5 separate regions of the Homo sapiens genome follow, and regions 1, 2, 4 and 5 are each linked to region 3. The links are contacts of gene promoters, found by promoter capture Hi-C in blood cells and fetal thymus (Javierre and others, 2016). All regions are on one chromosome and are shown on one strand. Each heading gives the region's core, a stretch centred on a gene start or on the middle of the fragment in contact. The rest is flanking DNA. Distances are from core to core; before and after follow the strand shown. Region 1 overlaps RPS6KA2 (ribosomal protein S6 kinase A2). Region 2 overlaps MPC1 (mitochondrial pyruvate carrier 1). Region 3 holds the start of CEP43 (centrosomal protein 43). Region 4 overlaps SFT2D1 (SFT2 domain containing 1). Region 5 has its middle 28 kb from the start of PRR18.

What was found. Contacts are between HindIII fragments. The CHiCAGO score rates a contact against its expected background, and 5 or more counts as called.
Region 1: a contact is called between a fragment that was not itself captured here and the fragment with the promoter of CEP43 in region 3, in 7 of 17 cell types (total CD8 T cells, naive CD8 T cells, fetal thymus and 4 more). The highest score is 14.5, in total CD8 T cells.
Region 2: a contact is called between a fragment that was not itself captured here and the fragment with the promoter of CEP43 in region 3, in 8 of 17 cell types (monocytes, erythroblasts, naive CD4 T cells and 5 more). The highest score is 7.9, in monocytes.
Region 4: a fragment that was not itself captured here is called in contact with the fragment with the promoter of CEP43 in region 3 in 1 of 17 cell types (non-activated CD4 T cells); the score reaches 5.7 in non-activated CD4 T cells.
Region 5: a fragment that was not itself captured here is called in contact with the fragment with the promoter of CEP43 in region 3 in 4 of 17 cell types (non-activated CD4 T cells, total CD8 T cells, total CD4 T cells and 1 more); the score reaches 6.2 in non-activated CD4 T cells.

Annotation. Positions count from the first base shown.
Region 1 is chr6:166,406,735-166,412,056 of GRCh38, reverse strand. It overlaps RPS6KA2 (ribosomal protein S6 kinase A2), which reads left to right. Exons shown (of 21, transcript NM_021135.6): 21 at 1-2,693. Among named protein-coding and RNA genes, the nearest start is that of MPC1-DT, 26 kb to the right of the region's middle. The HindIII fragment of the contact is 742 bases long and covers 930-1,671 here.
Region 2 is chr6:166,376,913-166,382,080 of GRCh38, reverse strand. All of the region lies in intron 1 of MPC1 (mitochondrial pyruvate carrier 1), which reads left to right. Among named protein-coding and RNA genes, the nearest start is that of MPC1, 3.4 kb to the left of the region's middle. The HindIII fragment of the contact is 1,619 bases long and covers 2,227-3,845 here.
Region 3 is chr6:166,996,048-167,000,700 of GRCh38, reverse strand. CEP43 (centrosomal protein 43) reads right to left here and starts at 1,304. Exons shown (of 13, transcript NM_007045.4): 1 at 1,187-1,304; 2 at 588-641. The coding sequence starts at 1,288. MIR3939 (microRNA 3939) reads left to right here and starts at 2,789; the gene lies at 2,789-2,894. RefSeq lists silencers at 843-932, 943-1,102, 1,193-1,712, 2,003-2,232 and an enhancer at 2,773-2,822. The HindIII fragment of the contact is 9,184 bases long and covers 1-4,653 here.
Region 4 is chr6:166,329,537-166,334,539 of GRCh38, reverse strand. It overlaps SFT2D1 (SFT2 domain containing 1), which reads left to right. Exons shown (of 8, transcript NM_145169.3): 2 at 4,293-4,379; 3 at 4,951-5,003. Among named protein-coding and RNA genes, the nearest start is that of SFT2D1, 11 kb to the left of the region's middle. RefSeq lists an enhancer at 871-920. The HindIII fragment of the contact is 4,577 bases long and covers 412-4,988 here.
Region 5 is chr6:166,277,814-166,282,704 of GRCh38, reverse strand. No RefSeq gene overlaps it. Among named protein-coding and RNA genes, the nearest start is that of PRR18, 28 kb to the left of the region's middle. The HindIII fragment of the contact is 2,671 bases long and covers 396-3,066 here.

The DNA.
Region 1 (5,322 bases), core at 51-2,550, 590 kb after region 3:
AAGGGGGTGCCTCTCGGAGGAGCCTGTGTCCACCTCCAGTCTCGGCTTTCCCCGGGGGGCCAAGCGCACTGGGCTGCCGTCTGTCCCCAGCTCCCGTGGCCACACAGCTATCTGGAGGCTTTGCAGGGAGTCGTGGGTTCTCGCACCTGCTCAGCCCTGTGTCGGCTTCCTGTGTGCTCACCTAAAGCTGTGGTTTTGCTGTGTTCACTTCGATTTTTCTGGTCTGTGGAGAAACTGTGAATTGGAGAAATGGAGCTCTGTGGCTTCCCACCCAAACCTTCTCAGTCCAGCTGGAGGCTGGAGGGAGACACAGGCCCCACCCAGCAGACTGAGGGGCAGAGGCACAGGTGGGAGGGCAGCGGAGATCAGCGTGGACAGGAGCGATGCACTTTGTAGATGCTGTGGCTTTGTGTTGCGTTTTGTGTCTCTGTTGCACAGATCTGTTTTTTCACACTGATCCGTATTCCCCTGGGTGTGCACACAGGGCGGGTGTGGGGCATTTAGGCCATGCTGTGCTCTACTTCATTGAGTAAAATCGAGTGAGAGGTTCCGGGCAGCAGGATCGACGCCCAGTCCAGCCGGCAGAGGGAACACACGGGTCCTTCATTGTCCTGTAAGGGTGTTGAAGATGCTCCCTGGCGGCCCCCAAGCAGACTAGATGGGAGGAGGCGCCGCTCAGCCCCTCACCCTGCATCACTGAAGAGCGGCGCCTCTGCAGCAAGCAGGGCTTCAGGAGGTGCCCGCTGGCCACAGCCAGGTTTTCCCTAAGAAGATGTTATTTTGTTGGGTTTTGTTCCCCCTCCATCTCGATTCTCGTACCCAACTAAAAAAAAAAAAATAAAGAAAAAATGTGCTGCGTTCTGAAAAATAACTCCTTAGCTTGGTCTGATTGTTTTCAGACCTTAAAATATAAACTTGTTTCACAAGCTTTAATCCATGTGGATTTTTTTTTTCTTAGAGAACCACAAAACATAAAAGGAGCAAGTCGGACTGAATACCTGTTTCCATAGTGCCCACAGGGTATTCCTCACATTTTCTCCATAGAAGATGCTTTTTCCCAAGGCTAGAACGACTTCCACCATGATGAATTTGCTTTTTAGGTCTTAATTATTTCACTTCTTTTTAGAAACTTAGGAAGAAGTGGATAATCCTGAGGTCACACAATCTGTCCTCCCAGAAATGAACAAAAGTCATCACCTTTTCTGCTTGCTACACAGGCAACGATTCCCCCATCAGCTGCCCGGACCCTTTGGCCTGGCTTGGTGTGCAGGCCTGTCTGTTTGCTTAAAGTCAGTGGGTTCTGGTGCAGGGAGTGAGAAGTGGGGGAAGTGAAAGGGAAAGCATCCGTGAGAAAGCGGCCACGGTTTTCCCTCCTTGTGTGCCCATGGGGCACCAGCTCATGGTCTTTTTCAGTCATCCCAGTTTGTACAGACTTAGCTTCTGAACTCTAAGAATGCCAAAGGGACCGACGAGACTCCCCATCACAGCGAGCTCTGTCCTTACATGTATTTGATGTGCATCAGCGGAGGAGAACACTGGCTTGGCCCTGCTCCGCTGAGTGTCTGTGAAATACCTCTACTTTCCCTCCCATATCCAGAACAAAATGATACTTGACATCCTTCCACAAAAGTCAGCCTAAAGAAGTTATGGTATCATATGTTAAACTAAGCTTTCAAAAACCTTAGTGAAATAGCAAGTGACTGCTTTCAAGCAGCAGTCGACATGTAAATGAAGGTGTTCTTAGAATTCGCATTTTGCCAGCTCAGCGCACCTCCACAACGAATGAAATGCTCCGTATGATTTGCACAAATGACATAGACCTCCCCAAAAGTTAACTGGCTCTCCTTCCTCACACAGTTCATCATAACCCAACCCCCCACCCCCGGGTCATGAAAATCACAGAACTTATAAACACATTGAACCCTAGATCTCAGGCTTCCTGACCTACCGCCAGTGGCCCCTTGCTGGCCACCCTATAGGGTCCTCCTTCCCTGGCAGCCCCCCATGTGGGAGAAATACCTGATTCTCCCAATCTGCAGTGGGAGAGCTTTGCTGAATTCCATCCCAAAGTCAAACATGGGCAAGAGGTGAGGATTTCACTTTTACCCTCAAGTCCGATTTGTCTGTGATTTTAAACTAACTGTGTATGTATTGATGTTTGGAAGATTGTTTGAATTTTAAAGTGATAATAGTACTTAATGTTATCCAGTATTGTTCATTAAATGGTGTTATCCTAAAGCTGCACTTGGGATTTTTACCTAACGCTTTACTGATTCTCTCAAGCACATGGCAAAGTTTGATTTGCACTCCGTTCATTTCTGACACGTTTTGCTGCCTCCTACCTTTCTAAGCGTCATGCAAATTCGAGAATGGAGAAGGACGCTGCCGGTCCCTGAGCGGTGTGGAGAGGGCGGAAGGTGGACTCCAGCGCAGCTTGAGGGGCTGAGGACGGAGGCTGCAGCATCTGTGTCGTTCTACTGAGCACGCTTCTCTGCCTCGCTCCTGACTCAGCACTTTGTTCACTGGCTCAGCAGTTATGTTTACACATCATTTTTATGTTCCTGCTTTGTAATTCATGTTTGAGATGGGTGGCCACTGTACAGATATTTATTACGCTTTCCAGACTTTCTGAATAGATTTTTTTGAATAAACATGGTTTTATGAAGTGTAATCTTTTTCTAGCCTAACAATAACCTTTGGACTTTCTGTGTTGTTACCAATAACAGTCTGGATAGCTCCCCACTCCTCTGGCCCCTCCCGCTGGCTTCAGGTCATGACCACCTCTGCTGCTACCATATGACTCCTCATGGGGAGGTGAAGCAGCATCACGACCACTCCAACTCAGAGCCCTGTGCGTGGGTGTGTGCAGGTGGGTGAGCTCATGCATATGTGTGTATGTACATATGTGTAGGTGCACATGTGTGCGTGTGTAAGTGGGTGAGTTCATGCATGTGTATGCACGTGTGTGTGTGTGCTTGTGTGTGCACATGTGCGCATGTGTAGGCGGGTGAGTTCATGAGTGTGTACACATGTATGCTTATGTGTGTGTGCACAGGTGTGTGGGTGGGTGAGTTCATGCATATGCATGTGTGTACGTGTGTGCTTATGTGTGTATATGTGGAAGTATGATTTCATGCATGTGTATACATGCATAAACGTGCATGAGAGCACATATGCACATGTGAACATATGGATGTATGTTTATCTGTGTGTGCATTAGGGCCTGTGTGTGTGTGTGGGGGATGCACCCCTGAGAGGAGCCCAGCTGTGTGATGGATCTGGGGCTGGCAGGAGACAGTGGACGGTCATCTTGTGCAGCAAAGCAGGTGCCCAGCACATGGCCCTGGGAATAGGATTTTTACCTCACTGTGTCTCCTGTGCTTTGCCACCTGGCCTCAGCATGCCCATCCCTTCTTAATACAGACATAAAGCCAGTCTGCACTGTTGGTCCTTGGCTCTCCAACCTAATTTCTTCTTCCTATTTGGTAAATTCCTAACCAGCATGTGTCAGCAAGCAGCACACACACACACACACAAAACACCATACTGACACAGGCACACACACACACCTTTGCTCCTGTAGTAGGATGCCCCATTTTCTGAGCTGCTCTCCCAGCAGGGTGAAGGGGGCCTTGCTGAAATCTGTGAGACTCACTGTGTAGGCAGGAGCCCTGGATCCCACTGAGGAAATTGCAGGACAAACAATAGATGCAGAAGAAATCCTGCCTCCTGCTGTACCCAGAAGTGCCCAAAAAATGCCTACTGAAAGAGGCATCATTTGAAAAAAATGCCTCTTACATCCTCTGTGTATCATTTTCTATATCTGCCATAGCAAATCTAAAACAGCAGCATATTCTACTGTCTTACAGCTCTGTGGGTCACACGTCCAAGACAGGGCTCTCTGAACTAAAACCGGTATGTGGGCAGGGCTGCCTCCTTCCAGAGGCTCTCAGGGAGAATCCGATTTTCTTCCAGCTTCCAGAGGCCATCTGCGCTTGGTGGCTCGTGGTCCCTCCCTCCCTCCTGCAAATTCAGCAGTGGCAGGTGGAGTTCTCACACCCTCTCCTCCGCCCAGCCCTCCTGCCTCCCTCTTCCAATTCTAAGCCCTGTGAGCACACTGGCCCACCAGGATATTTGGGAAACTCTCCCTATTTTAAGGTGGTCTGATTAGCACCCTGAATTCCACCAGCAACCTCAGTTCCCCTTTGTCACAGCTTCCAGGGATTAGGACGTGGACTTTGGTGGGGGGGATGGATTATCCCGCCTGCCGCATACATGTAGTTGAGCGTGGCTCTGCGTACACTTGTCCACCTGCACATATTTTTTTGGTTGGGGAAGACAAGCTGTCCAGACTGAAGTAAGTCTCTGAGGCTTGGCCCTACTTGCAGGCTCACGGATGCTGGATGAAGGCACAAGACTTCTAGGTCACAGACCTAGCAAACAGCTAGGCCCAGCAAACAGCATGGGCCCCGCACACATCGGTCCCTGTGGGCCCCAAGCCTTATGGGTTGGTGGACAGTGGCCCAGGTGGACATGCTGCACACGTTGAATTTGCATCACAGATGAGGACCCTGACTTAGGAAACCCTAATTGTTCATGGAGGGATGCAGGCAAACCCACCCCCCATTGCCCTGGAAGGGGACACCCGATTACAGTGGACAGGAAGACGCCTGCCCTTGGCCACAGAGAGAGATGCTGCCTCTGCCTCCCAGGGCTGTCTACTACACAAATGTCCTTGGAAAGACAGTTCAGAGCCAAAGCAGCTAGAGACCGCAGAAAGGCAAGAGACCCATGGAGAATTGCCTCCCAGTGGCTCAGTGTTGTAACGCTGGACCCCAAATGCTGAACTGAATATCGTCTAAGAATCCACTGACAGGCCTGGAGAGGAGAGTTGGACTCACACTTGGGCTGTCACCTTTATCTGTGGAGAAACTCAGCTTAATGCTCAATCTCAGATGCATCTGAGGACATAAAGATATTTTTATAGAACTTAAAAGAATCCCCCATACACCTATCATATGTATAATGATAGATATAGATCTGTCATCCTTACATGGATGGAGGTACATATATGTACCTATATGTACATATGATAGGTATAGATATAAATTATAGACATATAATATATAGATATATATGTATTTGTTGTTGTTCTCAAAATTCAGCTAATTACTTGTCCTGATTAATGCCAATCTGGGACATTAGCAGTATTTGCAGAAAACAAGCGGGGCTTATAAAGGAGCCAGGGAGCCCTGACTCCCACTTCCCAATGCAGCCCCGCGGGCTGTGAGTGAAAATTACTGCTTCCCCCAAATTTAGGGC
Region 2 (5,168 bases), core at 1,787-4,286, 620 kb after region 3:
AGATCCTCGGAGTGGGTCGCCGGTCACCTGCGGCCGTCCAGGTGTGCCAGAGGCGGCGACCTGGGTGTGGGGTGGGGAGACGCCAGCGGGAGGCGCTGCTGAGAGCGCGGCGCGGCGCTGTTGGAGCGGAGCTTCGGGTGCGCCCAGCGCGCTTCTGGGACAGCGGAAATAAAATGTGCTGGCCTTGGGTTCGCCTTTCGGTTTTCTCATTCTAAGGACTTTAAGCTTGGGAGGAAGTACAATTTAAGATGTTTTTATATACGAAATTCTGTCAACCAAAGTAAAGTGACGTGTCTCTAAGGTCATACTTTTTCTTCTTGTTCTATTTTCTGTTAACTCCTCCTTTCCAGTTAGAAACAAAGAGCATTCGCGGTTGGAAAGCCTGAAAATACACTTTCTATAATTTATTTGCACCTCTCATCTTGGGGCGCTTGCTTTTATTTCAAAATATTGAATATAACTTTGAAGCAGTTTTAGGTTATTTAGGAGTGTAATTTTAGTTAGTTTTTCAGTGTATGATTTTAAAACCTAGGTACGTGTACAGCTGCGGTTTTTTTTCGGTAGTTAATAGTGTGGTCAAGAGGTAAAGAGATGAAAGCTGAGGAGGAATAAATCCTGTTATAACCACACAAAAGGGATAGTATGAAGGCAACTTGATTTTAGCAATAAAAAAGTTTTAAATCCTGAATTTTATTGCAAATACTGTTTACTTCTACTTTTATAGAGCAGTAGGGTAGGAAAAATAATTCAGTCTGCCATATGGTAAACTTGTAAACAGAAGCTTCACTTCTGACTTTCAAAAAAAGACATTTCTATGCTTAAATAGAACTACTATTAATTAAGATGGGTGTTTAGCACTGTGGAGCACAGCAATGTATCAGATTAATGGTAGTAAAAATGTGAACAAGGTAGCAGTCTGAGGGTATGCTCTCAATCCTTGCTGTTAAGTTTCTCTACAGCTTTGAATATTACTTTAGCTTTTTACTAATGTGTTGGATACTGAGCCTTCCTAATAGGTACAGCTAAGGATAACATTGTGTGGTAAAATTAAAAATACAGTTATGACACCTAGCTATATAAAAATTATGCTGATAATTACTTAACCGTTTTCTTTTCTTTTTTTTTTTTTTTTTTTTTTTTTGAGACAGAGTTTGTCTCTTGTTGCCCAGGCTGGAGTGCACTGGCACTATTTTGGCTCATCCAAACCTCCGCCTCCTGGGTTCAAGTGATTTTCCTACCTTAGCTTCCCAAGTAGCTGGGATTACAAGCATGCACCACCACGCCAGGCTAATTTTGTATTTTTAATAGAGACGGGGTTTCTCCATGTTGGTCAGGCTGGTCTCGAACTCCCGACTTCAGGTGATCCGCCCACCTCGGCCTCCCAAAGTGCTGGGGTTAGCAGGTGTGAGCCACCATGCCCGGCCCTAACAGTTTCATTACATAGGAAGAATTTGTTAAATATATTTTCAAGGAAGAGAGTTCTGCTTTTCTAAGTGTTATATTTTCTTCTACTAAATGGGTTTCCAAGAGCCAGGCTTTTCAATAGGATACTTCAGTATATCATCTAACCTTTTTTTCTAAAATTAACTTTATGTAGCTTTAAATTTTTATACTTTCTCCAGTATTTAATTCAATTACACTTTGACTAAATAAGGAAAAGAAGAGAATTGCATTACTCGGAACAGTGTTGCCTGGTAGAGCACCACACTAAGATTCAGAAGAATGACTTACAGTCCAGGATCCCCAGCAAGTTGATCCCAGCAGACTTTATTTGTCCATCAAATGGGTTTAATGATAATGCTCTTTTTGGGTTATCAAGAAAATTAAATTGGATAAGGGATGTGAAAATACTTGGAAACTCCAAATCACTCTACATTTTATTATATCCTTCTGTTTTTGCAAGCGAAAACATTTTTTAAAGTTTACAGTTATTTAGAAAGTTAAAATCTTGTGTGAGCTATAAAGCTCTATGATCTTGAACTGAAATTATTTTTGAAAGGTGAACACGTGATGTGAAACATTCAGCTGATCTGTTTACCCTGCCATTCTTGGCAGCAGTGGGAATTCATGCTAGGTCTGCCAAACAGTGATTGAGGGCCAGTTTGAGGTCAGGTATCAACACTCTGACCAGAAGCTTTTTATTTTAGTGTTTCCTGCCCTAGAAAGAGAAACATTTCTTCCTAGAACATATCAGAGGAAAGTACTTCCTATTTGTTCTTCCAAGCTTTACGCTTACAGCCCGGCTTTTCTTTAGCAAAGGAGAATAAAATATAAAGCAGAAAACGTCATTGTATCTCTTTTCTTCTAATCAGAAACAAGGTTCCATCCCTTCCTCTTTTTACTTCATCAGTTGCCTGTTGTACACACTTTGCATCCTCTGCATTCTTTTTGTAGCCTACTGAAGGGGTCTAGAGGTTTTCTCAACTAAAGCTGTTCTAGAATTTTAAAAATTAATAACATAATTGAGTTTTTCAGCATAAATTTAAAATCATATTTTACACAGATTATAAATTTATTTCAATCATGTTTTATGAATCAAGTTGAACATTCTTACTAAACTGAATTTCCAAGTGTATTTATTTATTTAGAGACAGGGTATTACTCTGTCACCCAGGCTGGAGTGCAATGGCATGATCATAGCTCACTGTAACCTCCCACTCCTGGGCTTGAGTGAGCCTCCTGCCTCAGCCTCCCGAGTAGCTAGGGCTACAGGTGTGCACAATCATACCTGGCTAGTTTTTTGTTTTTTCTTAGAGATGGGACCTTGCTATGTTGCCCAGGCTGTCCTTGAACTCCCAGTGTCAAGCAGTCCTCCCATCTTGGCCTCCCAAAGCTCTGGGATTATAGGCATGAACCACTGTGCCCAGCCCATCCACATGTATTTTAAATGATTTTTTTTTATTTCACTGAAAGAGGTTATGAAACAGGCTCTCACTTAGGACACCTAAGAACCAAAGATAATGTGTGGACTTTGATTGGGCCTGGTGTGAAAAAACAGCTGGAAAAGGCATTACTGGGATAACGGAACACTTAAATAGGATCTCAGTATTAAATAATATTAAATAATTATTGACAATTGTTAATTGTGATAATAATACCGTTAAACCTAGGTGATGAGTTTGAATGATGGATTTGAAGCCCAGCTCTTGCTTTCCAGCTTTGTGAGCTTGGGCAAATTGTTTAGCTTTTGTGCTTTCGTAGCTGTTTAATGACATAGTATAGCGCTTGACAAAAGTAAGTGTTCAATTTATTTTTTATTGTAACTAATATTGCATGTTTAATCCCCAGGATTTCTGGTACTCTCTTTTTGGTACTTTCTTCCATCTCTTGTTACTTACCTTGATTAGGATCTTGAATCAAGAACTTCCTGGGTCTCTATTCCAATACCTTTTTCTTAAGAAACTATTCCCTCACCTTTCTTATTGACAGAATAGAAAAAGAGAGCTCTTCTTTGCTTTTCCTCTTCTCTCATTCTCCTTCCTGGATTTCTGGTTAAGAAGAATAAATTAGAATAAGCAAAACAGTTTTGAGGTAGGACATATATTTTAATGATTAACTCAATCAAGGTCTGTGCAGCTTTATTCTAGCGACTTATTCCTCTTCTCAAGTTTGTATATTACAGTAAAGGTGAATGGATACACACACACACACACACACACACATGTATTTGTATATGTGTGCAGAGGATGTTTTCTTAAGAAGAACCTAGATCATAGAGTGCTTTAAAATCAGTTAATCACTTAGTATGCTTATGAATCTGAAGTTAGTGGGATGTTTGCATTGAATATTCTCAAGTTGATCAGGTATTCTAAATTAATTTTAACTTCTGAGTCTCCAGGAAAGCTTTCAGAATTTATACTTACTACCCAGGTGAGAAGTTGCAGTAAAATAAAAGTGAATCTTTCCCAAACTTGTGGAATATTAGAGTTGGAACAGGCCTTAGAAATTCCAGTGCTTCATTTGCCACATGAGAAGGCTGATATCTGAACCAAACAGATAACTTCAGAACCTCTGGATACCAAACTTGTGAAGCTAAAACAGAAATGTCAACTTGGGATTTAAAGGAAAATAGTAATGCATAGAAATGGTTTTGAAAAGAAGGTTTTAGATATTTTTGTGCTCCATGTTTTCCTGCATATGTCTCCCTTTTCTCTGCCAAACTGCTTTTCACACCCGGTCCTTGGACTCTTTGAGCACTTCCCTGCCATATAATTGACTTTCAGAAATTGAATGAAGCTGGAAATGTTGAAGCAGGACTGGCCATAAGAATCTCTTAATATCTGGATAGTCCAGTCACAAAGATCTTTACTGTCATTCAGCTGACTTTTGGCTCGCTAAATATAGCTGAATATCACAAATTCTAATTGTCAAAACCCTCCCTCATTTTAATTTGAACTAGAAAACTAGACAAAATTTGGTAAGAATAAATTTCAGCAAACTGTAGAATTATGATCTAAAATATCTCAAAATTTTATCCCATTTTACTTTGAATAATGTTAGAAATATACTATGCTAGGCTGTCAGTTGGATCCTTTTAGTACTACATAAGTAAGTTATAAATTACTTAAATTGCTCTCAGTACTTTCAGAGAAAGCTAACATTACCATAATTTTGGAAAAATTAGACTGACCTAAAAGCAGCTCCTCTGCTCCTTTTCAAATCTCCTCCTGGTTCAGCCTGCCTGCCTCCACTTCTGCCTCCACCATGTCCATCAGGGTGACCCAGCAGCCCTACAAGGTGTTCAACTCTGGCCCCTGGGCCTTCAGCAGCTCCTCCTACATGAGCAGGCCCAGTGCCCACATCAGCTCCTTGATTGTCTCCCGAGTGGGCAGCAGCAGCACCAGCTTCCAGGGTGGCCTGGGTGCCGGCATGGGTCTGCCACTGCACTCCAGCCTGGCTAACAGAGCGAGACTGTCTCAAAAAAAAAAAAAAAGAATAAATAATAATAATAGTAATTATAACTGATATGCCAGGAAAGGAGGGAAAATGGAATCATATAAAATGCTCATTTAAAACCATAAAAGGCAGAAAAAGAATGGAAGGCAAAAAAAGAACAAAGAACAAGGACAACAAATAGAAAACAGTAACAAATATGGTAAATAGTAATACAACTATATCAATAATCACTTTGAATATCAGTAGACTAAAAGTACCAATTAAAAGACATA
Region 3 (4,653 bases), core at 55-2,554:
GAAGTGAGAGGACAGTAGACTGATTTGTCATACAGCAAGAGTTTAAGGCTTTGATGATGGTTCTATTCTTGTTGACAAATTCCAGAATATTTACTCAGGATGGTTGGTGGGACTCCGAAAAAGTTAAATTACCCACTTAAATATAGAGTAGTGGCTGCACTTTTAAAATAATCGCTGTCTTTTTCATTGTCAAAATAATTGAGTGGTCAGATAATTTTGGGAAAAGTTGCATACTATATACCCCGTTTCATAGGGATTAATAACATATTAGCTTACTAAAGGATCTGAGTGAACCTGCACTTAACACATTGACAATGGCACCATTTCTTCAAGAAACTCCTATGACCATTTGTTTCAGATTAAGCATTAGTATCAGAGTTACTGTGGTACCTTAAGATTACCCCCAAATTCAAAAGCTACACGAAAAAAGAATAATTTTGGCTCTCTCTCAATAGTAATGTAATCCTTAACAGTTCAAAATTATCCCTAGCTATATGTTACTATAAACTATTTTTAAGACGGTTTTTAATGAATAAGAAATTAAGTATTAACGAATACAGCCATGTTAAAATCTGGAAACTTCATACCTCTACTTTTTCTTGCTCCTCTAGTGCTAAAAACACAGCTGCTCGGAGTTCAGCCTTAAAAAAAAGTTAAGAAACAGGAAATTATAATTTCAAGACAATTTTCACAACAAGCTCACATTTATCCAGCAACAAACACGAGCAAGCCAACGAGCTGGGAGGGCAGGTGCAAAGGTCAGAAACGCCTTCCGAAACGTTCTCAGTCACACAAGCTCTCCGACCCCCAGGCTTCGGCTGGACGCGCTGCTTTCCCGCCGCGGATCATGCCCGAGCCTGAGGAAGAGACGCTGGGGCCGCACTCCAGGGCCCAGCTGCGGGCCGCCCGTGTGGCCCCCAAGCCCCGCGGTCCCGCCCCCACGGAATGAGGCAGGGGATGGGCCAGGCACCCCCAGTCCGCGGTGCCCTCCGGGACCACACGAACGAACGAGCCGACCCCCTCTGTGGGGCGGGCAGGACGGAGGCCATGCCGGGGCGCGCCCCCAGTGCCCGCCGGCCCCGGTCCCTCGCCAGGGAGGCGGCCTCCTCGCCGCGACCGTTGTGACGCCCGCTGTCCACGCAAGCCCTGCGGATCCGCCAGGCCCGGCCCCAGCCTCCGGCCTCACCTTGATGCGGTTCAGGACCCCGCTGTTCTCCAGCGTCTGCACCAGCAGGTCCCGCAGCTCCGTGTCCTCCTCGGCCACCACTGCGGCCGCCGTCGCCGCCATCTTGCTTCTCCAAGACAACCGCCGAAGCCGCGCTAACGGCCAACGGCCGCAGCAGGGTACGCTCCGCGCGCGGGCTACGCGGCCGACGCAGCCAAAGCCCCGCCCCGACGCGCAGCGCGCTGGCCCTGCCCCCTGGCGTCGGGAGGCGGGGCATAGAGACCTCGGGGTTGACGCTGGACACCGAGCCTTGGGGAGCGCCGGACCACTGAGCGCCGAAACTTAGGGTCGGCGCTGGGGGCGGGGCTGCGGGGCGCGGGTGGGCACGCAAGGGGCGGGGCGTCGGCGGGGCCTCCAGCCGGCAACCCGTTGGCTGCCGTCGCCTGAGGCGCGAGCTTTGAAGCCGGCGAGCGGTGAGGAGGAGGCGCCCTCGCGTGTGGAGAGCGGACTCCGCCTGGACTCCACCGCCCACGGCCGCATCCCATCGCCGCACAAGATCGCCGGAGTCATATTATCGACGTAGTTAAAGCCCACTAGCCTAAAGCCGGGCGGACTGCGGTAAGGAGGCCCCGAGACCGAACCTGCAGCCCCTGCAGCCCCGGGGGGGCGCCGGGGAAGGGACTCCCGAGAGGTCGCGAGGGGCGGAAGGCCCTGCAGGTTGTCACCCGGAAATAACGTTCTGAGGCCCCCCAGCCAGGCGAACGCACCCTGCTCGGCCACGGCCTCCGAGGCTAACCGGAAAGGTGCCAGGCCGAGGTGCAGGGGCGGGATGGCCCCAGGAAGAGCCGAGGGCCGAGGAGGGCGTTGGGTGGGCTCCGCGCTGCCCGAACTGGGGCCGCAGTCTCCACTCCCTCCTGCCCCGCGGCCCTCCGCCGACAGCCAGGCGCCGGCGGGGAGTCCTGGACCCCTCCCGGGCCCTGGAAGCCCCGTCCCGCCGGAGCTGACGCGCCCTCTTGGTATCCATCCGGCCGCCTGGGCTGCCCCTCGCCCCTCGCCTTGGCAAAACCAGCCCCCGGACCGAGCCCTGCCTTGGAGAGTGTGGGTGCGCAAGGCCAGCCGAGCTGTCGGTTCCGGGGTTTCGGGGTGCGCCACTGTATGGCGGCGTAAGCCGAGAAGTGTCCGAGGCCGGGCTCCAGCAGTTGAGAGGCTGATTTGGCCACGGTGAAGGACGCGCCCGGAGGAAGGAAACGGGAATCCGAAACGGGCGGTGGCCGCGCCTTTCCCGAGGCCGGCGTCGAGGGCTTCAGCGCCTCAGGGTGGGCGGGAGGGGAAGGTCGTGCGACCCGCGTGGCCGGCGGAAAGGAGCAGCGGGAGCCGCGGCCGTAGGGAAGCCACGGGAAGACGGGCGGCTGCGCTGCGATGCGCGGCCCTCTCCCTGAAGCCCTCGGCTCAGGCGCCACAGGAAAGGCTCCTTCGGGCAGGCCTCAGCTTTCAGCTTAAGTTTTTTTCCTTTGGCCGAGTCAACTGCGGTGCCGAGTTGTATTTTCCTTTCAGAGGTGTGTCCGAGAACCATTCTTAGGAGACGCCTGCCGGCCGCTTTGGGATAGGGCCTGTCTGCCCATGCTGGCTTCCAAAGGCCTCTGTGTGTTCCTGTATGTGGGCGTGCACGTACCTGTCACATGTGTACGCGCAGACCACAGGATGTCCACACTGGCTTCCAAACACATCTCTGTGTTTCTGTCTGTGAGTGTGTACGCAGGTGTCAAATGTGTACGCACAGATCACAGGGTGTCCACACTGGCTTCCAAACACGTCTCTGGGTTCCTTTATGTGCGTGTGTATGCACTTGTCATGTGTACACACAGATCACAGGGCATCCACACTGGCTTCCAAACATGTCTCTGTGTTTCTGTCTGTGGGTATGTACACACATATCACATGTGGAAGAGGTAGGAAGAGGCTGGAACAGGTAAGGGTCATGAAGGTGCAGTGCACTATTGTACTGTTTGCGCTTTATATGTGTTTGGTTAGTTTTGCAAGAACATGCTGGTGAAGGAGAGAGAACCCCAAACAATTGATTAGCAGTGCTACTGAAACTCAGATATACACAGGAATGGCAAAGAAACATCTATGAAAAAAAGCAGATTCTGGAACTCCATCTCCCTGAGATTGTCACTCATGGGGTCTGCAGGAAGTTTCAGGAATCTGCATTTTCTTCTAATAAACGTGGTCCACAGGTTATAAGTTGAGATACAAATAGAATATATAAAGTAAAAAAGGAAAATTTGAAGTTTCCTGCCTAGCCCAACTCTTCTCATTGGTAGTGTCTGTTAAATTGGAAACATATCTCTTTCCAGACATATTAATACCTTTTATACAGTTGACTCTTGAACAACATTAGTTTGAACTGCGTGAGTACACTTATATGTGGATTTTTTTCAGTAAATGGAATATTTTTGGCGATGGCAACAATTTTGTGAAAAACCTCACAGATGAGTCGCTTAGCCAAGAAATATGGAAAAAAAAAGAAAAGAAAAAGCTAGATATGTCATGAATGCATAAAATATATGTAGATACTAGGCCATTTTATTATTTACTATCATAAAATATATACAAGCCTGTTATAAAAAGTTAAAATTTATCAAAACTTACACGTACAAACAGACAGTTACATGGCACCCATTAGGTTCAAGAGAGGTGTAAACAGTTGTAAAGATGCAATATTAAATAATAACTGCATCAAATTCACTGTAGTACATAGAGTACTACTGTAATGATTTTGTAGCCACCTCCTGTTGCTATTGCAGTGAGCGTCAGTGTTGCTGGTATTGGCTAAAAATTCCAAGTAACATAATCATCTCTGAGTGAGCAGTTGATCTCTCCAGTACATTGCATATCACAGTAAAAGGTAAGCTCTTGAGGTTCTCACATATTTCTCGTTGTGTTCACTGCAGTACTGTAAACCTTGCGTAACACCATGGGACCATTACGAAGTGCCGCTAGTGGTGCTGGAAATGCTCCCAAGAATCAGAGAAAAGTTAATGACATTACAGAAAAAGCGGAATTGCTTGCTGTGTATTGTAGATTGAGGTCTGCAGCTAAGGTCGCCTGCCATTTTAAGATAAATGAATCCAGTATAAGGACTGTGGTATAAAAACAAAAGGAAGTTTATGAAGCCATCGCTGCAGCTACACCAACAAGCATGAAAACCTTGCACTTTTTGGGAAATACCTTTTTATCTCATATTGCAAATGCAGCTTTTTGTGGGTGCAGGATTGCTATGAGAAAGGCATACCTATATAATCTAATATTCAAGAAAAAGTGAAGTCATTATCTGACAAAGCAAAAGGAAGATGAAGGAAGGTATGATAATTTTAAAAAGTGGGTTGGCTTTCAAAAAATGTCAAGATAACAGGAGAAGCAGCTTCTGCTGACCCAGATGCAGCCGACGAGTTCCCAGATACCATTAAGGAAATTATTGAGGACAA
Region 4 (5,003 bases), core at 1,451-3,950, 670 kb after region 3:
CTCACTGCAACCTCTGACTCCCGGGCTCAGGTGATCCTCCCACCTCGGCCTCCCAAGTAGCTGGCACTACATGTGTGTGCCCCCATACCTGGCTAATATTTGTATTTTTTGTAGAGATGGAGGACTCGCCATGTTGCCCAGGCAGGTCTTGAACTGGGTTCAAGCAATCCGCCTGCCTCAGCTTCCCAAAGTGCCAGGATTACAGGCGTGAGCCACAGTGCCTGGCCTATGGTATTTTTGGTGTAGCAGCCAGCACATAGATTTTTAACCAGGAGCTGGATCCCTTACCCAGCACTTAGAACAGGCACATAGCAGCACTCAGTATTTATTGAGCCAGTTAGTGGATGGATGGATGGATGGATGAATGGATGTATGAGTGTACAGAGGCTGGAAGGTGAAGTGAAGTAAGCTTTCTGTTTAAGATGGAAGGGACTTCATGTTTAAAAGTTGATGGATGCATTTTCAGAGAGTGAGAACATGTTCACTAGAGGAAAAAGCCCAATAGCATCAATTCCCTGAGCAGGTAAGGGGTTGGCTGTAAAGCAGGGTGGACAGGTGGATCTCAGCTCTGTGGGAACCAGGAAAGGACAAGAGCATGGGTGTTCTTAGTTGGTGTGTTTGGTGGTTTGGTGGTTTGGTGGCAGCAGGAAGGTAAGGGAGTTCACACTGATGGCTTTGGGTTTCTGTGTGTGAAGTAGGGGAAGTTGTCTGCTAAGAATGGAAGTGTGGGGCAGGAAGTGGAGGTTTGAAGTGGTTTAGAGTAAAATGGACGTTGAGATAAAGCAAGAAGCCTTAGATTGCCAGGCAGCAATGTGCAGGCCATGGGGGGCTGATGAGGACTGGCTCAGGACCCCCCTGCCCTGTGCCTGACTCCACCCAGCAGTGCTCAGCTCAGCACCTCCTGGAGCAGGAGGAGGGAAAGCTGCACTCCGGTGGGATTTTACCAGGTGGAGGCAGCGGAAAGGGAATTTGAATGTCCTGTTGAAGCCGCTGAAAAAACGGAGAAGGGCCGGATGAGGAGTTCAGGAGGCCAAGGAGTCAGCACGGTGGGGCCGAGGAACCAGCCTGCTGCCAGAAGAAACGGGTCGGAGAGCGGCAGCCGGAATTTTGGCGATGGTGTAATTTCGAGCAGGAAGACTGCCCTGGGCTGGGTCACTGAGTGGAGTGGAGGGGAAAGGCCAGTGGAGATCAGGGGATGCTGCACAGAAAGGCCAGGCTGCCCACGCACACGTGGAACCCGTGCCGCATGCTGCAAGGATCTGGATAGGCCCCGCGATCAAGAGTCCTGAATGAGAAGGAGAAAGTGTGGACCCCAGCAGCGGGTGTGGGGAGCGGGCGGTTCTGCCTGGAATGGGCCTGAGGGTCTGCGGATGTCTGTTTCTTTTTCTCACTTGTCTGCACAACTTTGACTTTTTATACCCACTGCTATTTTGAAAAAGGAGTGGGAGGAATACTGGATTCAGTGTCATCATTAGTGGAAAGCCACAAGTGTTTCCTATGTTTAGATGGCAGAAGCCCAGGGGCAAGGCTCAGGTCCTTCCAGCTGTGCTGTCTCCTGGCGATCCGTGGATTAGAGCTGTTCCTCAGCTTCTCCGTCACTTAAAGGGGTGGGTTTCGGCTGTGCTGTGGGAGCCACTCATTCAGCCTTCATGTTGTTGCTGCTAGGACTACATTTTCCTCTATTATGTTTCTCACCTGCTTTTGTAAAAAATTAATGAATGAAGTTCTAGTTGCAAGCAGTGCTGTGCTTACTGTGGCGGGAATAGGGGAGCAGCCCCTCCTCAAGGGCCTGTATTCTCTTGGCTTCCTCTTCCTCTGGTAGCAGATAAGTAAAATGATGGATGGTGGTTTTGGGAGAGGAAGAGGTGGCAATTTTATTTCTTTTCTAAGACTAAGAGATTAACAAAGTTGCTGGTTTTGGTGGGATTGCTCCTGATTGGTGGTAAAAGAAAGCAGCACATAAATGCTTATGATAAGCAGGCTGGGTGCAGTGGCTCGTGGCTCATGCCTGTAATCCAGCACTTTGGGAGACCGAGGCGGGTGATCACTTGAGGTCAGGAGTTTGAGACCAGCCTGGCCAACATAGTGAAACCCCGTTTCTACTAAAAATACAAAAAATTAGTCAGGCCTGGTGGCGTGGACCTGTAGTCCCAGCTAATTGGGAGACTGAGGTAGGAGAATCACTTGAACCTGGGAGGCGGAGGTTGCATTGAGCTGAGATGGCGCCTGAGCAACAGAGTGAGACTCTGTCTCAAAAAAATGCTTGTGATAAGCAGACGTCAGGGTTCCTTCTGTCTCCTAGTTGGAAGATGCACTGCCAGGTTTTCTTTCATGTTGAAGCATATCACAGTTTTCCCAATTAGGAGTCAGGAAATCTGTATAGTTGTTTCGTATCCTAGACAATTTGCAAGACTTGAGACAAATCATTTGCTTGTGGATTGAATATTCCATGTTTACAAGTGGAAATAATTTGTCCTGCTGTTTCGTTTTAAAGATCAATACACGGAAGATGGCAATAGGAGGAAAAAATACCTACTATTATACAAATAGCCGTGCTGTTTCCTTGCTGAGAGAAAAACTGGCTATTGAAAAGCAGCGATTGAACTTGTGAACAATGGGGTGATTTGAACTTGGAAAAGAAGGAAAAATGGATGCTTTTTCCTCTCACTAAATCCTCACAGCATTGTGGACTCACACGAACCTTTAGAAATCATTATTCTTTCCATTTTTAATTGACAAATAAAAGTTATATACATTTATTGTGTACAGCGTGATGTTTTGACCTATGTATACTTTGTGGGATGGTTAAATGAAGCTGATGGGCGTGTCTCCATTTTTTTTAACAGATCATTTACTATGTAATTCAGTCTTTGCAGTTTATTCTGGCCTGCGTAGTTAAAATATACTTAGTGTATATTCTTCCTGATCAGTAAGAATGAAATGTAGATGTTTTTATAGGCAATTTCACTCTTTGTTTAAAACCAAGTGTTTAGTTTTGCCATAAACAGATGACATTGCTGGAAACAAGAATGTGAATTAAAACTTAAAAAACATTTAAAATGTGTTAAAGAGTGATATATGTTTCATTACAGAATACTTAGTTATTTTTATCTGCTTTTCATGCTACATAAGGATTCACAGATTAATCTCTTGAGGTAAGGAATGTAACCAAATGTATTTTGAACTGTTGCATATAGAACTTTCTCTTATTTTTCATTATTCTTGAAAATATAAGCATGTAGTCTTATTTTTAAGTGGATGTGGTAGTATAAATTAGAAATTTAAGTTTTGGAATATAAATCCTTGCTGTATATTTCTAGTTTCTTGCACAGCTGCTGTTGATAGATACTTTTTTAGCCTTATTTGGAAAATATATTTTAATAGTATAATTAGTAATCTGAGTGTGTTTATTTCACCACTACTGTGTGCTGGGTTATCATACTGTACAAAGTAGACTTAGTAATTTCTACTTTTTTCCCCACATAATTTGGCTAGAATTTGCATGGTATATAGGAATGCTGTTGCTCTAGAATAAATGATCATTTCACAGTATGTTTTTACAGTGGTGGAGGAGGGGCCCAAAACTTTCATGGGTTGGACTGAAAGAGCTTAGAACGGGTACCGTCTGGTGCGTGCTGTGATCGTCTCTGCTGGGGCTGCTCAGGCTGCCTCCTGTAGGTGGCCAGCGTCCTCTACCCTCCATGGGGTGCAGTCACCCCACCCCACCCCTGGCCTGCAGCCAATGACCGGCCGAAGGGAGGTGGCGTGTGGAAGGCCAGCCTCTGCCTCCAGCAGGACTTGCACTGAGTGCGGATGCACTCGGATGCACTCAGACTCTGGCATCTAGGAGCCTGAGGAATTCGTCCTGCAGAGGCAGAGAGAACAGATAATGAACCTGTGTACTCTTTCCCAGCCTCTGCAGTTTCAGTGTTTTGCCTGGCCTGTTGCATCTGCCCCCTGTGTTTTTTTAATCTTTGTATATTTTATAATATATCTTATATGTCATTTTATCCATATCAGTGTATATCGGCTGTCCCTAACAGATAAGGACTTTTGTGAAACATATTATCAGACTTTGCAAAATTAATGGTTATTCCTCAGCATCATCTGCTACCCAGACCATGGTCATATTACCCTTAACAACCGTGGAATCTTAGTATTCTTGAATGACACTGTGATATGCAAAATAAATGATTCAGACTATGTGTTAAAACTTTGCTTTAATTTAGTATAAAGAATCAGATTGGTAGTGAATTAAGACTATATTCTAAATTTTCCCATTTTTTATTAAGGTCCTGGATGCCTCATCCCTTAGTTTCAACACCAGATTGAAATGGTTTGCCATCTGCTTCGTATGTGGCGTTTTCTTTTCTATTCTTGTGAGTTAAGGCTTTATATTGTTTAATAATTTTTATTTTGTATTAGACTAATAATTCCATTTAGTACCAAAAACTAATGTCCTTTACTAAATCCCTGTTAGACCATTTTGGTGGAAGGTATTTATTAAACTAAAATAAAGGGGTAGAGATCAATGAAAATACGTAGAAATTAGTATTTTGGGGAGTTTTGTGGATAGTTGAAATAATTTAAGAAAAATGTATCAATGTGTTAAAAGATCTGGAGAGTCAGTAATTTAGATGTTTATTACCTTTTCATACTTGGTATTTAGCATGAAAATTTAACTTAAATAGACTGAGATTTACTGGTAAGCACAAAGTTTTGTTATGGCTCATTTATATATGCTAGTGCAAATAGGAAGAAGATTCAAGTTAGTGTATAACATTGAAAATTAACTATTTTTTCTGTGTAATCAGACTAGACTGTCTACAAGCAGATTTGTATTTAAACATATTACATAATATTGGTATTGTATTACTGCAGTAGCACGTTTATATTTTAACCATTAAAATCATAAAATTATTTTAAAATAACTATAATATCTTAACTTAGGGAACTGGATTGCTGTGGCTTCCGGGCGGCATAAAGCTTTTTGCAGTGTTTTA
Region 5 (4,891 bases), core at 482-2,981, 720 kb after region 3:
TTTAAACAAGGTGATAAGATGCCTGTGTGCACAGTTTTCCTGTAACACATCTTGGCAATCAGGAACCTGTGAGTCAGACGCAGGTGCAGTGCACAGGCTGGAGCGAGGCCTGTGAAGATAGAGCTCAGGAGGGCAGCTGCTTAGGGCTCCGCTCATTCTCTGGGCACCAGGGTCTCTACGCAGTTGTCTGTTATGGTCTCATAGCCTCAAAGGATTCAGTTTTGCCTCAAGTCAGAACACTAACGTGACAATACAAAGCCTGGAAGTGATTAAGCCACACTGTGGACTGCGACCTGTGAGTAGTTTTACTTTTCAGTTAATGCGAATCTAAATATTCAAAGATAGAACAATATACTAACGTATTGGTGTGCACTGGGGGAGCTTCTCTTTAAGCTTGTTTCATGAAGAAATACAGAGGCTCTCAGGAAATCATTTTGAAAGAATGAACTTAACGTAAGTGCCCTTCTTTCTAAGAAATTGGTGAACTCCCTTTGAGGGTTGATTGAGCGCAGGTCTCTTTATTTCCGGCCCCCCTTGGACCCTCCTCTTTCTTCAGCTCCATGGATCCTTGGGTTTTCAGCAGACATGATTCTTCAAGCATCTCTTCCTTGCCTTAGCTGCTGAAGGCTGCGTGCAGACAGTGCTGTCTTTTCGTCTGCAGTGGGTTGAGAGCTCATGGTTCTGGTGTACTCCTCAGCTCCCTCTTTGTCAGCCCCATTCTAGGGTGTAGCTTCCTCCAGGGTGCCGTGGCGTTTCCATGGTCTGCGTTGCCCCATTGGCCTCCCCGTAGGACTCCCAGGCTCAATGCCACTTCTCTCTGATCCCCCAGGTGCAGAGGCAGGAGGGACCTCGCACAACCCAGCTGAGAGGATAAAGACTGAGAACAGGTGTCCCAGTGTGCAGAGGCCCTTCAGCTCCATGTTCCTTGGTGGGTTGTTGGCTCCATCCTCACCCTTCACCATCCGCTCCAGCCCCACCCTCGGGCTGCCACTGCCTCCAGTCTTCACACTTGCTCTCCCGTAGACCCCGCAACGCCATTCAGCACAGCTGGGCGAATGCACCCAAGGAGATGGTCCAAACAAAATAATTCAGGAGCTAGGAATTCTGGATTTGAACAGAAAATAGCAGACCTCTCCAGAAAGGCTGGGGCTGAGGGGCTGCAACTGGGGCCTCAGGGGGTTGGTGGGACTTTGAGCTCTTGGGTCCCATGGACATCGCCTTTCCGGACAGCTCAGGAAGACGGCGCTGTTATCCCGCAAAGACCTGCAGTCTCAGAGGACACCATCTGTGGAAATGACTTCTCTGCTGGCTAAGTGCTCGGTCCTTACACAAAATCCCTTCTCACCCCAGTAGTGTGGAGATGAGCCTGGAAGTAGTCATAGTGAGAATAACAAGGTTTGCTTAGCATTGTATGCTTCACAGCTCCTTTTTACATGATTACATCTGATCCCCAGCACAGTCTTGTGAGACATTGTTATTCCCACATTCCCACAAAGACACGGGAGCTCAGACAGGTAGTGCTCCCCTGCCCCCCGCCCTGGTGCTCTGAAGCTCTTCCATTTTTGTTACTACGGAAAAGTCCAAGACTTGTTAGAAAGATGTTCATTGAGAACTCAGATACTCTGAATAATTGCTTCAAGAGCATAGAGTCAAGTTGACATAAAAATATTTGAACTATATATTTTTTATCCGTTTAATACAATTTTATTTAAGATGTTCAAAGTGCATTTCTAGATGCCTTGAACTTGAAGCTATTGCCTCTCATTTTCACCCTTGTTGGGGTTAAAATGATCACTAGAGTGACCATGGTTTTTATCAGCTTATCTGTTACTCCTTCCTCCTCTGACCAGTGTCACACACATTCAATTCAACAAACACCGATTGAGTGCCTCCTGTGTGCCAGGCAGTGTTCTGGGCAGCAGGGATGCAGGCAGAGAACATGACAGTGAAGCAGCCCCGGCAGCGGAGCTTGGGTCTGGTGGAGGGAGACAGCCAGGAAGCCAGCTGGATAAGTTAATTATTTCTAAAGCTATATTTGGAATTGTACAGAAGTAAATCAGGTATATAAACAGTTTGTTAGAATGTAATCAGCAGTATGGAGAAGAATAAAGTAGTGCAGGGAGAGGAGGATGAGGGTGGGGTGAAGTCTGCAATTTTAATAAGGTGCTCAGCAAAGCTCTCACCGAGAGGGGCTGTCCGAGCACAGCTAGAAGGTATGAAGGGGCTGACGGTGAAGGGAGCTATGAAAGAACTTTACGGACCATGAGTCGGGCCTTCTGGGCATGAAACTGAGCTTCAGGGAATGGGAGACAAGGTTAGAGAGAGTGAGGTTCAGTGGCAGCAGATCATAGAGGGCTGGTGGCCTTGGGAAGATGTGAGGGAATTTCTAACAGAACTACGTCTCAGGAGGCTGAATAGGAAGTACAAGAGCTGGCCGGGTGCGGTGGCCCACGCCTGTAATCCCGGTACTTTGGGAGGCCCAGGTGGGCAGATGGGTGAACCCTCATCTCTACTAAAAATACAAAAAAAAAAAAATTTTCTGAGCATGATGGCACGCACCTGTAATCCCAGCTACTCTGGAGGCTGAGGCAGGGGAATTGCTTGAACCCAGGAGGTGGAGGTTGCTGTGAGCTGAGATTGCGCCACTGCACTCCAGCCTGGGTGACAGGGCGAGATTCCGTCTCAAAAAAAAAAAAAAAAAAGGAGCCACTGCACTCCAGGGTGACGACGAGATTCCGTCTCAAAAAGAAAGGGAGTCTGAGAGCTATGTTGAGGACTGGGGGTTCAGACAGAATATGAATTCATTTTATCTTTACCCCAGAGTGTTCTGGAAGTTGTTAAGGGGAGCAGCTTGGGGGCCGTGGTCAGAGTGAGCTCTCTAGGCTCTTCTGGAAGAGCACTGTCCCAGAAGCACCTGGTGCCAGTTAGGCACCCGTGATTTGGCAGCTTAGTAATGGAAAAGGATGGTCAAAGGAACAATTACTCGTGACCAGGAGATCTAGTTGTGTGGGAGGAGAGCACACATGCACATGCACAAACACATGTCTACACAAACACACATAAGCTTGTGCACACATGCATGTACATACAAACATATACAAACATGCACACACAAATCCACACACACATGCACAAATGTGCACACACAAAAATGTGCACACACCTGTACACACAAAATGCACAAACTCACACATGCACAAATGTGAACACACAAAAAATGTACAAGCACACATGCACATACAAAAAGCACACACGCTCACACATGCACAAATATGCAAACACAAAAATTGTACAAATACAAATGTACACACAAAATGCACACACACGCACACATGCACAAATGTGAACACACAAAAAAATGTACAAACACACATACACACACAAAATGCACACAAACACACATGCACAAATGTGCACACACAAAAAAGTACAAACACACATGTACACACAAAATGCACACACTCACACATGCACAAATGTGCACACACAAAAGTACAAACACACATGTACACACAAAATGCACACACTCACACATGCACAAATGTGCACACACAAAAGTACAAACACACATGTACACAAAATGCACACACACTCACGCATGCACAAATGTGCACACACAAAAAAGTACAAACACACCTGCACACACAAAATGTACATACACTCATACGCACAAATGTGTACACACAAAAACATGTAGAAACACACATGCACACATAAAATGCACACACATGCACACATGCACAAATATGCACCTGCACAAATGCACACAAGCACACATACACACAGGCATGCTCACATACACGAGTGCATGCATGTACAGACATGCATAAACATACATGTGAATGCCTGACCATGCCCATGTGCATGTACACCAAACATACACACAAAAACGCACATGCACAGTTAGACAAGTTCAATGACGCAAATATGGCTGAAGTATAAAATCATTACGTCATATTCAGTAATGGGCCACATGACTAGTGATTATGTTTCTGATGTTTGTGAAAAGTACAAGTATTGGAAGATGAGGCTCAGAAAAAGAAACTGTTGTGTTAACCATTGTTGATATCAAAGAATACCTTGACCACAACACGATATCACTTCACACTCATTAGAATGCCTCTAATAAAAAAGATTTCAATTACAAGTGTTGGCTACGATGTGGAGAAATTGGAGCCCTTATATGTTGCTGGTGGGAACGTGAAGTAGTGCAGATGCTTTGGGAAACAATTTGGTGGTTTCCTAAGAAGTTAAACATAGAGTTATCACATGACCCAGAAATTCCCCTTCTAGGTGGAATCAGTTACGCAAGATAACCGAAAATATATGTTCACAAAAAACCTTATATATGATTTTCATAGCAGCATTATTCATAATAGTCAAACAGTGAAAACAGTCCAAATGTCTGCCAATTGATGAGTGGATAATCAAAATGTGGTCTGTCCACACAATGGAACATTATTCAGCCATAAAAAGGAATGAAATACTTATATATATGCACGACATGATGAAACTTGAAAATGTTATTCTAAGTGAAAGACACCGGATGCAGAAGACCACATATTGTATGACTATTTATGTGAAGCATCTGGAAGAGGAAAATCTATCGCGTTCATCTGCCAGAGCTGCCATAACCAAGTGCCACAGACAGAGTGGGTTAAGTAAGAAACTTATCATCTCACAGTTCTGAAGGCTGGAAGTCTGAGATCAAGGTGTCAGCAGAGCTGACACCTGGTGAGGCCTCCCTCTTTGGCTTGCAGATGGCCGCCTTCTCACTGTGTCCTCACATGGTCGCCCCTCTGTGCCCGCACAGCCAGAGTCCTAGTGCCCTCTTCTTACAAAGACACCAGTTAGTTTGGATCAGGGCCCACCCATCCAACCTTATTTTAAC